Regions from separate parts of the Homo sapiens genome. Here all the other regions are linked to region 1. Evidence: promoter capture Hi-C in 16 types of primary human blood cells and fetal thymus (Javierre and others, 2016). All regions are on one chromosome and are shown on one strand. Each heading gives the region's core, a stretch centred on a gene start or on the middle of the fragment in contact. The rest is flanking DNA. Distances are from core to core; before and after follow the strand shown. Region 1 holds the start of TPRG1-AS2 (TPRG1 antisense RNA 2). Region 2 overlaps TP63 (tumor protein p63). Region 3 has its middle 120 kb from the start of MIR944.

What was found. Contacts are between HindIII fragments. The CHiCAGO score rates a contact against its expected background, and 5 or more counts as called.
Region 2: a contact is called between a fragment that was not itself captured here and the fragment with the promoter of TPRG1-AS2 in region 1, in 2 of 17 cell types (activated CD4 T cells and naive CD8 T cells). The highest score is 5.5, in activated CD4 T cells.
Region 3: a fragment that was not itself captured here is called in contact with the fragment with the promoter of TPRG1-AS2 in region 1 in 1 of 17 cell types (M2 macrophages); the score reaches 5.6 in M2 macrophages.

Annotation. Positions count from the first base shown.
Region 1 is chr3:189,238,259-189,242,698 of GRCh38, reverse strand. TPRG1-AS2 (TPRG1 antisense RNA 2) reads left to right here and starts at 2,105. Exons shown (of 3, transcript NR_046722.1): 1 at 2,105-2,202; 2 at 2,313-2,422; 3 at 3,743-4,013. It overlaps TPRG1 (tumor protein p63 regulated 1), which reads right to left. Exons shown (of 6, transcript NM_198485.4): 4 at 3,790-3,966. RefSeq lists an enhancer at 3,023-4,222. The HindIII fragment of the contact is 9,051 bases long and covers 1,721-4,440 here.
Region 2 is chr3:189,846,085-189,850,547 of GRCh38, reverse strand. The region is part of intron 4 of TP63 (tumor protein p63); the gene reads right to left. Among named protein-coding and RNA genes, the nearest start is that of MIR944, 18 kb to the right of the region's middle. The HindIII fragment of the contact is 3,498 bases long and covers 754-4,251 here.
Region 3 is chr3:189,951,601-189,955,548 of GRCh38, reverse strand. No RefSeq gene overlaps it. Among named protein-coding and RNA genes, the nearest start is that of MIR944, 120 kb to the right of the region's middle. The HindIII fragment of the contact is 2,124 bases long and covers 925-3,048 here.

The DNA of each region.
Region 1 (4,440 bases), core at 856-3,355:
TAACTCCACTCATATAAAAAATCTTTTAAAAAATAAAAGAGGAGGGAACATTTTCCAACTTGTTTTATGATGGCAGCATAGCCAAAATATGAAAACCTAGCAAAAACATTTTAAAAAATGAAAATAACAGACTAATACCCCTCATGAACACAGGCACAAAAATTATCCATAAAATATTAGCAAACTAAATCCACTAATGCATAAAAAGAATAATATGTCACAACCAAACATGTTTACCTTAGGAATGAAGAACTGACTTAATATTTGAAAATCTTAATAAAAATAAGACTTTCAAACATTAGACAAGCTGATTAAAAAATAAATATGCATAAATAAAAAACGATTAATAAATGGGGAATAACTCAACCAGATATTGACACATAATATAAGGTTATAATAATTAAAACCATTTTGAGCTTTAAGAGACACAAATGGAATGGAATAGAAAATCCAGGTACAGAAACACACAGAGAAAAGTACTACATTATAAAATAATAAACATAAAATATCAAATATATGATATCGAGAAATCTAGCCTGCCATCTGGATAAAAATTCAAGTTGATTGCATACCTTCTTCTTTACTCAAGGCAAATTTTAGATGAAATATAAGTTCGTTGTTAACAGTAAAATAAAATTACTAGACAAAAACTTGGAAATTTACTTTATAATTATAGTATGGAGAAAGCTTTTCTCAAAAAGACATAAATTTAGAAGCCTTGAAAGAATGAGAAATTTGATACCTGTATTAGTTTGTTTCACACTGCTGATAAAGACATACCCCAAACAGGGAACAAAAAGAGGTTTAATTGGACTTACAGTTTCACATGGATGGGAAGACCTCAGAATCATGGCAGGAAGCAAAAGGCACTTCTTACATGGTGGCAGCAAGAGAAAATGAGCAAGAAGCAAAAGCAGAACCCCGTAATAAACTCATCAAATCTCATGAGACTTATTCATTATCACAAGAATAGCACTGGAAAGACCAGCCCCCATGATTCAATTACCTCTCCATGGGTCCCTCCCACAACATGTGGAAATTCTGGGAGATAGAGTCCAGGTTGATATTTTGGTGGGGACACAACCAAACCATATCAATACCCCAAAACTAAAGGTCATGAAAAATAGCATAATAATGTTAAAAGAGATATGACAAACTGGGAAAAATTTATTTGCAACATATAGGACAGAAAAGGAATTCAGTTCTCTAATACACAAATAGCTCTTACAAATCAATAAGAAAAAAATTAAACATCCCAACAGGAAAAAAAAAATGGGCTATAGTCATAAATAGGCAGTTCACAGAAAAATAAATAATATGGCTTTCTAACCCAAGGATAAAAACACATATCGTTCTTCAAATTCTAGTGATGCAATTTGAACCCCAAATAAGAGACTTTTCTTTACTATCTCACTGGCAATGTAAAAAGGTTTTGTAATACTTGATATTGGTGTGGGTGTGTGGAAAAGATTACCCTGATACTTTGTGAAAGTATTAATTGGTAGCACCTGTTTGGAAGGCAATTTGACAATACTCATCGGTTAAAATTTACATGACTTTGACCTAAAAATTCCACTTCTAGAAATCCATTAATACATTAAAGGAACAATTACATGTTTGTGCAAAGTCTTGTAAGCAAGGATATTTGTAGCAGCACTTTGTAGTAGCAACGGTAAAAATAGATATACATCAATGAGGGACTGGCTAAATAGATTAAGCTTAAGAGGTAATATTCTGCACTATTAAAAAACACTGAGATTGATCTATAGATGATTATATAAACCTCCAAGTTATATCACTGGTAGATATTATAGCATGAGGCAGGACAGTTTATGACATGTGCTTTCATTAGGTAAAATAATATGTAATAAATATGTGTGTAGATATGTACTTTTAAACGTGTATAGGCATATGTACACAGAGAGACCTTGATATGGTTTGACTATGTCCCCACCCAAATCTCATCTTGAATTGTAACACCCACAATTCCCATGTGTCGTGGGAGGAACCCGGTGGGAGGTGATTGAATTATGGGAGCAAGTTTTTCCTGCGCTGTTCTCGTGATAGTGAATGAGTCTCATTAGGTCTGATGGTTTTAAAAACAGGAGTTTCCCTGGACAAGTTCTTCTCTTGTTGCCACCGTGTGAGATGTGCCTTTCACCTTCTGCCATGATTGTGAGGCCTTCCCAGCCACGTGGAACTGTAAGTCCAATAAATCTTTTTCTTTTGTAAATTGCCCAATCTCAGGTATATCTTTATCAGCAACGTGACAATGGACTAATACAGAACTTTTTATTCTTTTATATTTATAGACTATTTATTTAAAAATACACAAGAAACTGTTGACTATCACCCATGGAGGGAAGGCTGAAGAACCGAGGGTCTGGTGTAGAAGAGAGAGTTCCTGAAAATGAACATTTTTGTAATATTTAAATATATATTTTACAATGTGTAATATTATTATTGAAAAAAATCAACAGTTTTAAAAGCTAATGAACTTAATAAATTAATCACTTTTTGCATCCATGAAAAGAGTAAGCAAAAATAAGTTTTTTATGTAGTATGCATAGTGTAAGGAAAGCAAGTCACTTGATGAACTCGTGCTTTTTTCTGTATATTGAAAAGATTTCAGACCCTACTATGTGCTAGTCCTAATGCCAGGTGCTTAAAGGACAACAAAATCAACATTTGCCCGCAAGGAATTCACGGTTCAATGGGAAGACCTCACATTCAGTCTTAGAGAAAGACTGTTGTTTCTCTTGCTTAGATCTAAAATGTTTAGTAAAGGCAGATGCCTCGAAGACTATGACAGGAACTTACCTAATTCAGCATTCTCCTCTGTAGACCTCACCAAGTCTCTTGGTAATTGTCAACATCTGTGAAACAGTTGACACACCTCACCACCCCTACGTCACTGAACTTCCAGGAATGATCCCAAGAGACATTTTATAAGAAGAGCTACTACCCATTTTGGTTCTATCCACTGAGCTTTACAGAATAATTTCAATTCCCAGAGGCATTACTCTTTTTAGCTACCGCTTTGGAATGTTCTTCCCCTTTGGTTCTCCTTCTTTGGCTAACTCCTGCCCAATATTAAATATTGGCTCAAGTGTTTCTTCTGAAAGTTTTCTCTGATTACGTGACACACAAATTAGGTTGAGTGCATTTTCCCCATGTTCCCACAGCTCTTTCTTCCTTACATTAGCTATTTATTTGTCACGTCCTCATACTAAAATACAAATTTACTGACATGGTTTGGCTGTGTCCCCACCAAAATATCAACCTGAATTGTATCTCCCAGAATTCACATGTGTTGTGGGAGGGAACCAGGGGGAGGTAATTGAACCATGGGGTCCAGTCTTGCCTATGCCAGTCTCTTGATAGTGAATAAGTCTCACGAGACTTGATGAGTTTAACAGGGGTTTCCACTTTTCCTTCTTCCTCATTTTCTCTTGCTGCGGCCATATAAGAAGAGACTTTCCCCTCCCGCCATAATTCTGAGGCCTCCCCAGCCATGTGGAACTGTCAGTTCAATAAACCTTTTTGTATTCCCAGTTTGGGGTATGTCTTTATGAGCAGTGTGAAAACGAACTAATATATTTACTTAAAGTTGTATCCCTGGAGGCTGACATAGAGTAGGAACTCTAGTTTAATGATTTCAACTTTCATGATTTCACTATCCTCCCTTGGGTTCTCCCAGTTTACAGGGCCAAACTGAATTTTCGGCTTGTTTTCCCTGCAGGTCCATCCCTGCTGCACCACTTCTTCAAGTATAAGATATATACTCACTTGTCCAGGGACATCCCAGGGAAGGTGAACTTGCCCAGGCAGATGCGATAGACAGCGCTCAGAGGAATCCGCTGCAGCTGCACACAACTCAGCATGATGAAGTCGTATTTGCAGATCAAGAGAGTCTTGTCTGTGACCAGTAGAATTCTCTCCTTCTCATTGTTCCAGTGGTCTATCCTATAGGAATCATCATAGCAAATAAAAATTGATGACACAGCCTAAGTTAAAAGCAATGACCTTCACATCTCTCCTAGCACAGAAAACAGTGAAGTTTGATCAACTCAGAAGAGAGAGGGGCTGAGAAATACCTAATACCACACCACTACCCCACTCAGTCTGGTCCCATGACTAAAGAAGGAGGAAAGGTGGAAGATGATGGAGAAATATTTTATCATCCCAGAACTCAAAGATAGTTGATTACCCACGATGGAATCCATTAGGGGAATACCCAGTGTGTGTTGTGTTAGCAGTCAACTGACTCATACTTCCCAACATTTTCCCAGTTCTCTAGAAAACTTCATAGAGGACATCTTCCTTCATGGACACCAAAAATATCTCTTTGTTCTAGCTGAATCCGTACCACAAATTTACTCACTACGAACTAGCCTACACTAATTTCCGAAGGTTGCACTGCTGACTGGAAGTAAGTCG
Region 2 (4,463 bases), core at 1,253-3,752, 610 kb before region 1:
TAATCTATTTTCAATTCCCATGCTTCCCAGATTTATCCATGTTCTTATATACAGGTATATTTTATTCATTTTAATGGCTGAAAGAAGGGAAATGAGATAGAATGGAGGAGTACTTTTTGCTTTATATTTTATTTAAGGAAAAGATTTGAAGCAATATGGAAAAATGTTAACATTTTGTCTTATACTCAGATGTCTTAATTTACTTACTTTTTTTACGTTAGAAATAATTCTTTTTTTGGTGGTGGCGGTGGGGGAAGGGGTACGGGGGGATGGAGTCTCACTCTGTTGCCCAGGCTGGAGGGAAGTGGTATGATCTTGGCTCCCTGCAACACCCACCTCCTGGGTTCAAGCAATTCACCTGCCTCAGCCTCCCAAACAGCTGGGACTACAGGCGAGTGCCACCACTTCTGGCTAATTTTTGTATTTTTAGTAGAGACAGCGTTCTGCCATGTTGGTCAGGCTGGTCTCAAACTCCTGACCTCAAGTGTGATCCACCCACCTCAGCCTGTCAAAGTACTCGGATTATAGGGCATGAGCCACCACACCTGACCTTGAAATATTTCTCACTTAAAATGTTTAATACATAAATTATTATGAGTAGCACCAACCTGTAAACTTGTTACAGACCTATGATTTTAGAAGACAGAGAATACAGAAGATGTTAGAACTCAGAAGGAACATTATAGCACCTCTTGTCCAAACCTTCTTCTCCTAATTTTCTGATATAAAACTGAGACTTAAAGAGGTGAAGCTTATTAATTCAGCAAATATTTATTGAGCACGCGCTTCATGCCAGTCCTTGTCCTGGCTATTAGGGAACCAACGGTAAACCTTACACTAAGGGAGTTGATCCAAAGGAAGTACTGACATTAAAAAAAATAATTTCTAAAATTGTGACACATGTCTTGAAAAAAAAGCAAAAGGAGAGAAGGTAAAACATGGGGGTCTATTTAGCTTGGAGGATGTTTTGGGAAATGCTCAAACTGTGTTTTTTCCTCTCCTCTCACATTACCACAGCAACAATCATCAACACAGAAGATGACTTCTGTGGCCAAATGTGTGGGAGTTTTTCACCACTCACCAAGCAGCAGACACCAAGCTGGGTGTCCTCCAATTCAACTGTGACACTGTCTACCCGGAGATCTGTCATATCGCACAGGTTGAAGACTCAGTTCCCAAGACTCCACACACAACCAGGAGCAAATCCAGACCTCTGGAACTTCTGACCAACCAGCTTCAAATTGGGTTTTCCATGACCCCAATTTGGGTTTGATTAATTTGCTGGAGCAGCTTACAGAATTCAAGGAAACACATTTACTGGTTTATTATAAAGGATGTTGCAGAGGATGAAGATGAAGAGACATCTAGGGAGTGGTATGGGGGGAGAGGTGCAGAGTTTCCATGCCCTCCCTGGGCTTCAACCTCTAAAACTCTCCACATGTTTTACTATCTTGAACCTTGCTGAAACCTGTCCTTTTGGGTTTTTATGAAGGTTTCATTATCTAGCCATGATTGATTAAACCATTGGCAAGTGGTGATCAACTTAACCTTCAGCCTCTCTCTCCTTCCTGGAGGCTGGGGGGTGGGGCTGACTCTCTAATTGTGCCTTTGCCTTTCCAGTGACCAGACCCCCATTCTGAACCCATGAGCCAGCATTAGCATACAAAAAAGGCAGCATTTTGGAAATTCCAAGGATTTTAGGAGTTATATGCCAAGAAACTTGGACAAAGTCCAAATACGTATTTCATGATATCACAGAGGGTCAGGAGTGCATCCCTGATAAAATGATTTCTAAAGGTTGCACAACTAAATTTGGGTAATGAAGAAGTGAACTCAGATTTCCTTAGTTCTATGAAGATAATGCTTTTACTACAATATTATATTCTAATTACAGAATTTCTGTAGAAATCCAACTTGACATCTTAAAGCAAGGGCTTGGTTCTATGTTTCTATTACTGAGTCATCCCATTTCAAAGCATTTTTAGTTTAACACACATTTGCTAAGATTTTTTTAGAACATTAGATCAGGGGCCAAGTTCAGTGGCTCATGCCTGTCATCCCAGCATTTTGGGAGGTCTAGGCAGGAGTATTGCTTGAACCCAAGAATTTGAGACCAGTCTGGGCAATACAAGAAGACTCTGCCTATACAAAATTAAAAAAAAAAAAGCCAGGTATGGGGGCATCTGTAGGAGGCTGAGGTGCAGAGGATCACTTGAGTGCAGCAGGTTGAGGTTACAGTGAGCCATCCTCAGACCAGTGCACTCCAGCCTAGGCAACAGAGAGAGAGAGAGAGAGAGAGAGAGAGAGAAGGAGGAGGAGGAGGAGGAGGCAGAGGGAGGAAAAGGAAAAGGAAAAGTTAGATCAGGAAAATTCAAAGTTAAAGATCATTTGGTTCAGCCACTTTATTCGCCGATGAGGAATCTAAGCCCCAGAAAGGAGAAGAGATTTGCTCAAAAGTTCTCAGTAACTGGGACCATCTTGACATACAGACCAGTGTTCTTCCCCACGTCCCACACAGTTTTAACAGTTATAGTATGAGGCCAAAGTGGAACTGGTGTATTCGTGCCAGAGTGAATTTGAGTGAATAAACACATGATTAGAAAATATATGATTAGACAATCAAGTGTAAAGCTCAGAGGCCATCTTACTAACAAAAATAAAAATATGATCACCAAATTCTTACAGGAGTATATATACTTATTTTTAGTTAAGCAAAGAAGTTTGTCTAAGAGTTGAGGTTTTCTTCCCTAAAGTGTAACCATATTCTCACAATGGGAGCTTGAACATAAAAACAACACAAAATGCCCACTCATTGCTTTAAGAATCAACTCTACTCCATCAGGTCCTGGGTTCAATAAGTCAGCAGTGGGTTGCACTAACCTCGTTGCCTATTTAGAAAGGACCCCCAGTGCAACTGTGGCTCTTTGCATTATGCAAATCTAAGTGAAATCAGAAATAAAATACTGTGATGGGTGGGGGGAAATAAAGCACATCTGAAATAATTTTCAAAAACGATTGGCCTCTTCAAAGAAGTCATAAATATCTGACACTCACTGAGAAATAACTGGCAACTTACATGATCCCCCCAAATCTTGAGCTAATCATTCATAGAGGGGAAAATAGATAATGTATAGTGTTACTTCCATTTGATGATAATGATGATGATGATGATGATTATTTTTGTTATTCTAAGACTGAGCTTCGCTCTGTCACCCAGGCTGGAGTGCAATGGTGCAATCTCAGCTCACTGCAACCTCTGCCTCCAAGGTTCTAGCGACTCTCCTGCCTCAGCCTCCTGAGTAGCTGGGATTACAGGCGCCCGCCACCACACCTAGCTAATTTTTGTATTTTGGGTAAAGACGGGGTTTCACCATGTTGACCAGGCTGGTCTCAAACTCCTGACCTCAGGTGATCCGCCCGCCTCAATCTCCAGAAGTGCTGGGATTATAGGCGTGAGACACTGTGTCCGGCCTCATTTGATTATTTTATAATTTGGTGCAAATCTCTTAGAGAACGCAGTTACCAGATTTGCACTGGCAAAGTGACTCTTTAATAAAGAATGTGGAAGGCCAAGCGTGGTGGCTCATGCCTGTAATCCCAGCATTTTGGGAGGCCGAGGTGGGTGGATCACAAGGTCAGCAGTTCGAGACCAGCCTGGACAACATGGTGAAACCCCATCTCTACTAAAAATATAAAAATTAGGTGTGGTGATGCACACCTGTAATCTCTGCTACTCAGAAGTCTGAGGCAGGAGAATTGCTTGAACCCAGGAGGCAGAGGTTGCAGTGAGTCAAGATCACACCATTGCACTACAGCCTGGGCAATAGAGTGAGACTGTCTCAAAAAAAAAAAAAAAAAAAAAAAAGAATGTGGAAAACAAAGTGTTGGTAATCTTTCTGATGACACACACACACACACACACACACACACACACACCCTACTGGCCATTTCTGATCATATATGTATAAATATATAAAGTAGAACTTAATATATGTTCTTCTGTATACATACTGTACATATATTCAATAGTTTGTTCATTCCCAGGAAGCACCAGCCCATGGGCAAGAATGATGAGCCTAATATTGTACTGATCTTCAACCAAATTTCCTTGTATACTGACATGACAGTTTTGGCCATCCACATGAACTAAATATTTCAACAATGACATGGAAAAGAAGTTCCTGAAAACTAACAAATGAACTAAACTCCTTCTTTTTATAAAATATCCTTGTCAAAATGGATAAGTAAGCTTTGCCTAAATTTTGTTTTGCTTTGGGAGGGAGGGGAGGAAGTTTGGAATATCGAGGGGTGAGCTGCTTAAAGCCAAATATCATGTTCAAATAAAACAACTCCAGGGGATTTTGGAAAACAAGTAAATTCAGCTCCTTTACTAATAATATGTTGCAAAGAGAAGGGGGAAAAAAAAAGAATTCCAGTGACTAGGACCCTACCTTTACCACCTG
Region 3 (3,948 bases), core at 737-3,236, 710 kb before region 1:
TCTGGGTGAGGATCTGATTTCTGTTTTCTGGCAACAAGGCATCAACATAGAAACAGTCTTTGTTTGGCTCCTTAAAGTTCCCACTTCCTGGGTGCGATGGGCACTAGGGGAGGGGCAGGGACTTCATCACTGATTCTTATATTCAGTCCCACAGAAAGTGGGTGAAGGCCGAATAGATGTTGTGTTAGAGCCACATCTTGTGCCATTTGCTGACAACACAGGGTAGTTATTCTTGTTTTGCCGGTTAACCATGTTGCTTTACACCTGAAACATCATGTATACACTAAAGCATTTACTTCTTAATCTGCTCCACATCAAACCATACATAATTTCATTCAAATATTTAGGGAGTGTCATCAGACAACTTAAAAAAAAGTGAAGCTTAGAAATTGCAGTTCGTATGGCACATAATCCCTTGTGTAGAAGGATGGAAAAGCCCATTAGGACATTTGTTGCTTTTACAGCTGAAGGAGGGCGTAGAAATCACAGTTCAATTTCATCTTTCTTTTTGGGTAGAAAGTGAGGCTTAGAGGTGGTAAAGATGATCCCATGGTTACAGAATTTGAGCAACAGAGCCAGAGCTAAAGCCAGGACTGTTGAACTTGGTTATGCAAGAATGCCTGTGGGAGTGTACATGGGGGCTGGAACCCTGGCACAGGGCTTTGTCCAGCTGGTGGAAGGGATGTCTTATTCTATTTGCCCAGAGATGGTACTTGCTTACCAATCTATGGACCTGCAGGGCTATATCTTTCCAGAAAGGGTGTCTTTTCTAATTCTCACGAAGTGCTGAATGTGCTTGAGTCAGCCTAGGTTAAATAGTCCAATGTGTATGAATAGTACATCTCATCTGTGTTATCTGAGGAATTACCGTTGGTCTTGGTGATGATCCTTCCCTTGTGTGAAAAGTCTGCAGCTCACAAAGCTTTTATTTTCACCTATATTATTGTTTTGAATGCTTATGACACAGAGCATGTTCACACACTGGGAACCCCAGGAGGTATTCTGGGCATGGATCGTGATGTCCATTTTGCAGATGAGGACATGGAGAGCAGTGGAGAGAGGTGATTACCTGGGGTCACGTGGCTCAGAGTGTCCAGGTCTGAGCTAGAAGCACAGTCTTTTGGGTCAGAAGGGAGAAAAGAGCACCAGGGTTGTTGCTCCCCTGGCCGTGCTTCTAGGCATATTAAATATAAAATAATAAATGTGAATAAAAAAGTCTGATTTTACCAAATCAAGAAAACCTTTTTCTCCTCTTTTATTTTCCTGCTGAGGGATGTATGTTGGCATACTTCCTCTTCTCTCCTCTGTGATATATTGAATACGAGTTGTATTATTCAATTTGATTCAGCCCTATTTTTAAAGACATACCTTGAGCCTTGAACTGCTTTTATGAAGCTCACAAAAGGGAAGAGGATTCTAGTCAGGTATCATTTTTCTCTCCCTCAAAGGCAAAAAGAATCTTGAACTTAAATTTCTTCTTTAGAAAAATCTGACACAGGACAGAGTGATACTGTGGATGGGCGAAGTGCTTTCTTCACAGCCCCGAACCTACATTGTTTGACAAGGAAATCTCAGTTTTAACGCACTCTTAAGACTTTTAATGCACTCTTCATCATTGACATCATAACATTTTTGGCACTTCCTCAGCTGAGGAGAAGCCATGGAATGAGTCAGTGCTATTTAATAATATATACCTGTGAATTTTAATTGAAGTACAAATGCTGAATTATTTCACACAAGAGAACCACAGGGAATGACTCCCTCACTGACGTCAAGAAAGGAGGTAATGGGGGCCGCCTCACCAGTTCCTTATGCCAAAGCATTGAACATTCTGAGCTGACTGACAGTGGTATGGCTGAGAAGTGGGAAAATGTTGACCTGTTCCCACATCCAGAGCACTTTAGGGAAACAGGAGCCATTGGCAAAAACTCCAGACCACAAGTCCGTGTTACAAGCCCTCTCTGCCTCCTGCCAAGAAGGCTGTGATGTGAAATGACGTCTCACATAGTTCCAACTGCCCACCCACAAATCCTCTACTCCCTGATAATTTGATGTTTCCAACAGGAGGCATATAGACTTTTTTTTTTTTTTTTTTTCTCCTGAACCTGGTTGATTTCTTCAAACACATCAAAACAAGTAACATCAGCCACTCATTGAGCTCACTGCTGGGTTGGAGCTGCAGACTCATTCTGTCAGAGCTTCCCCTTTACCTCCTCCTCCTTGTAATTCACAGTGTTTTCTGTGCCCACTGCTGACCTCCGAGGCTGGGCAAAGCCAAGTTGGGAACAATCTGACTATTGATTCTGTTTCACTCTACAATGGATGGCATCAGCTGTAAAAAGTTGGGTTAATGAGGCACCTCTGGCTTCAACTATCTTATTAAGGGCCCGCAATAAAAATAACCAAACAAGATGTTCCTATCATTTTTTTTCCAGACATGTTGCTGGGGAGGAAAATCTAAATGAATGCTTCGTTTAGTCAACATATGACACATGTTTTCTAGTCATTTTATATGGTACATTTAGGAGAAGGGAGAACAAAAGGTGAATAAGACATGCTGTACCCCCTCTCTTTATTTTGGTAGAATGGCCACAGAGGAGAGCCAGGGTAGCCTAGAGTTTGACAGTCTTTCTACCTTAACAGTCCCTTTTATAATTATCTGATATCTTCTGCTTTTGAAGGACGAATCAATTTCGAATAGATAAGGCCACGTGCCTTCTTGATTTGAGCCTCATTTCAACAGTGAATTGAGTGTTACCTATATATATGGGAATCTTGCCCTGGGCCTCTCTCATCAGACCTAGGTGCCTTCCCGCATGACGGCAGCGTGATGACATCGGTCCTAATAATCTTATCCAGACCCGAGGTAAACCCTCCTCTCTTATTCCAAGTTTATGTTTTTACCTCTGAGTTACTACCTGGTGGTGGGTGGAGGTAGAAATAGGGAATGGACAATAAGCATTACCTGGTATGTCTCATCTCTTTCCACTTGTTAATCGTATATTCCATTGTTTCAAAGGTTGTAATCGTGGTTGGCTTTATAAAGCTTTTTTATGGTCTTGAAGCACGTAGCAATCATATGTAACTACATAATTATCTTGAGAGACACGTCAATGCCATCTTCATTGTGTAAATGGGAAAAAACAAACAGGCACAGAGAAGGTGATGTCGTAAAGCCCTGGTCATGTATGAATTCATTTCACAGAGAGTTTTTGAGTGGCCGTGCCGTTGTAGGCTTAGGGAGGCATTTAAAGATGAATAAAATGTTATCCCTTCTTTTAAGGAACTCAAAGTGGAAAAAAACAGATGTAAACAAATGATCAACTTAAAGTAAGGTGAATGTTACGGCAGAGGATTGTGATAGGGGTAGGAGGAAAGGTCATGCAAGTGGGAAAGGAGTGGTTAGTGGTAGGGAAAAGTTGGAGAGAAGGTGACAGGTGAGCTGGATCTGGCCTGACTGATCTGCCACCAATACGTGGGAATGAGCCACTTAACCTCTCATTGCATCACAGTGTCCTCAGCTGAAAAGTGTTGCATTTGAACTGAATGATTTCTTGGGTTCTAAAGGACTGAGCCTTCGGAGAAAATGAGAGTTCAGAAAGTTGGTGTTTTGGGGTGGAGTGGAATGAGATAGCCTTCGGAAAGCAGTTTAATGAATGCTGTGAAAATCTTAATAAATACCAGTTAAAGAGTAAGTTTTATTGTATTCACTTGCAAGGGAGGTATTATTCAAGTGGGTAGTGTGAAAGCCCTGAAGGACTGAGCTTCCTTCTGAAAAGCAGAGGAGTAGCTACTATCAGAAATAGCTGACGTGAATTCATCGTTGAGACTAAAGTCAATGGGCTCTACCAGCAGCATATTCCTCTGCCCATAAGTCCATGAAACTTTCTACCCTACATGACCTGGAACTAATCTACTTCACTCAAATTATTAGACTTTCGTATCAGA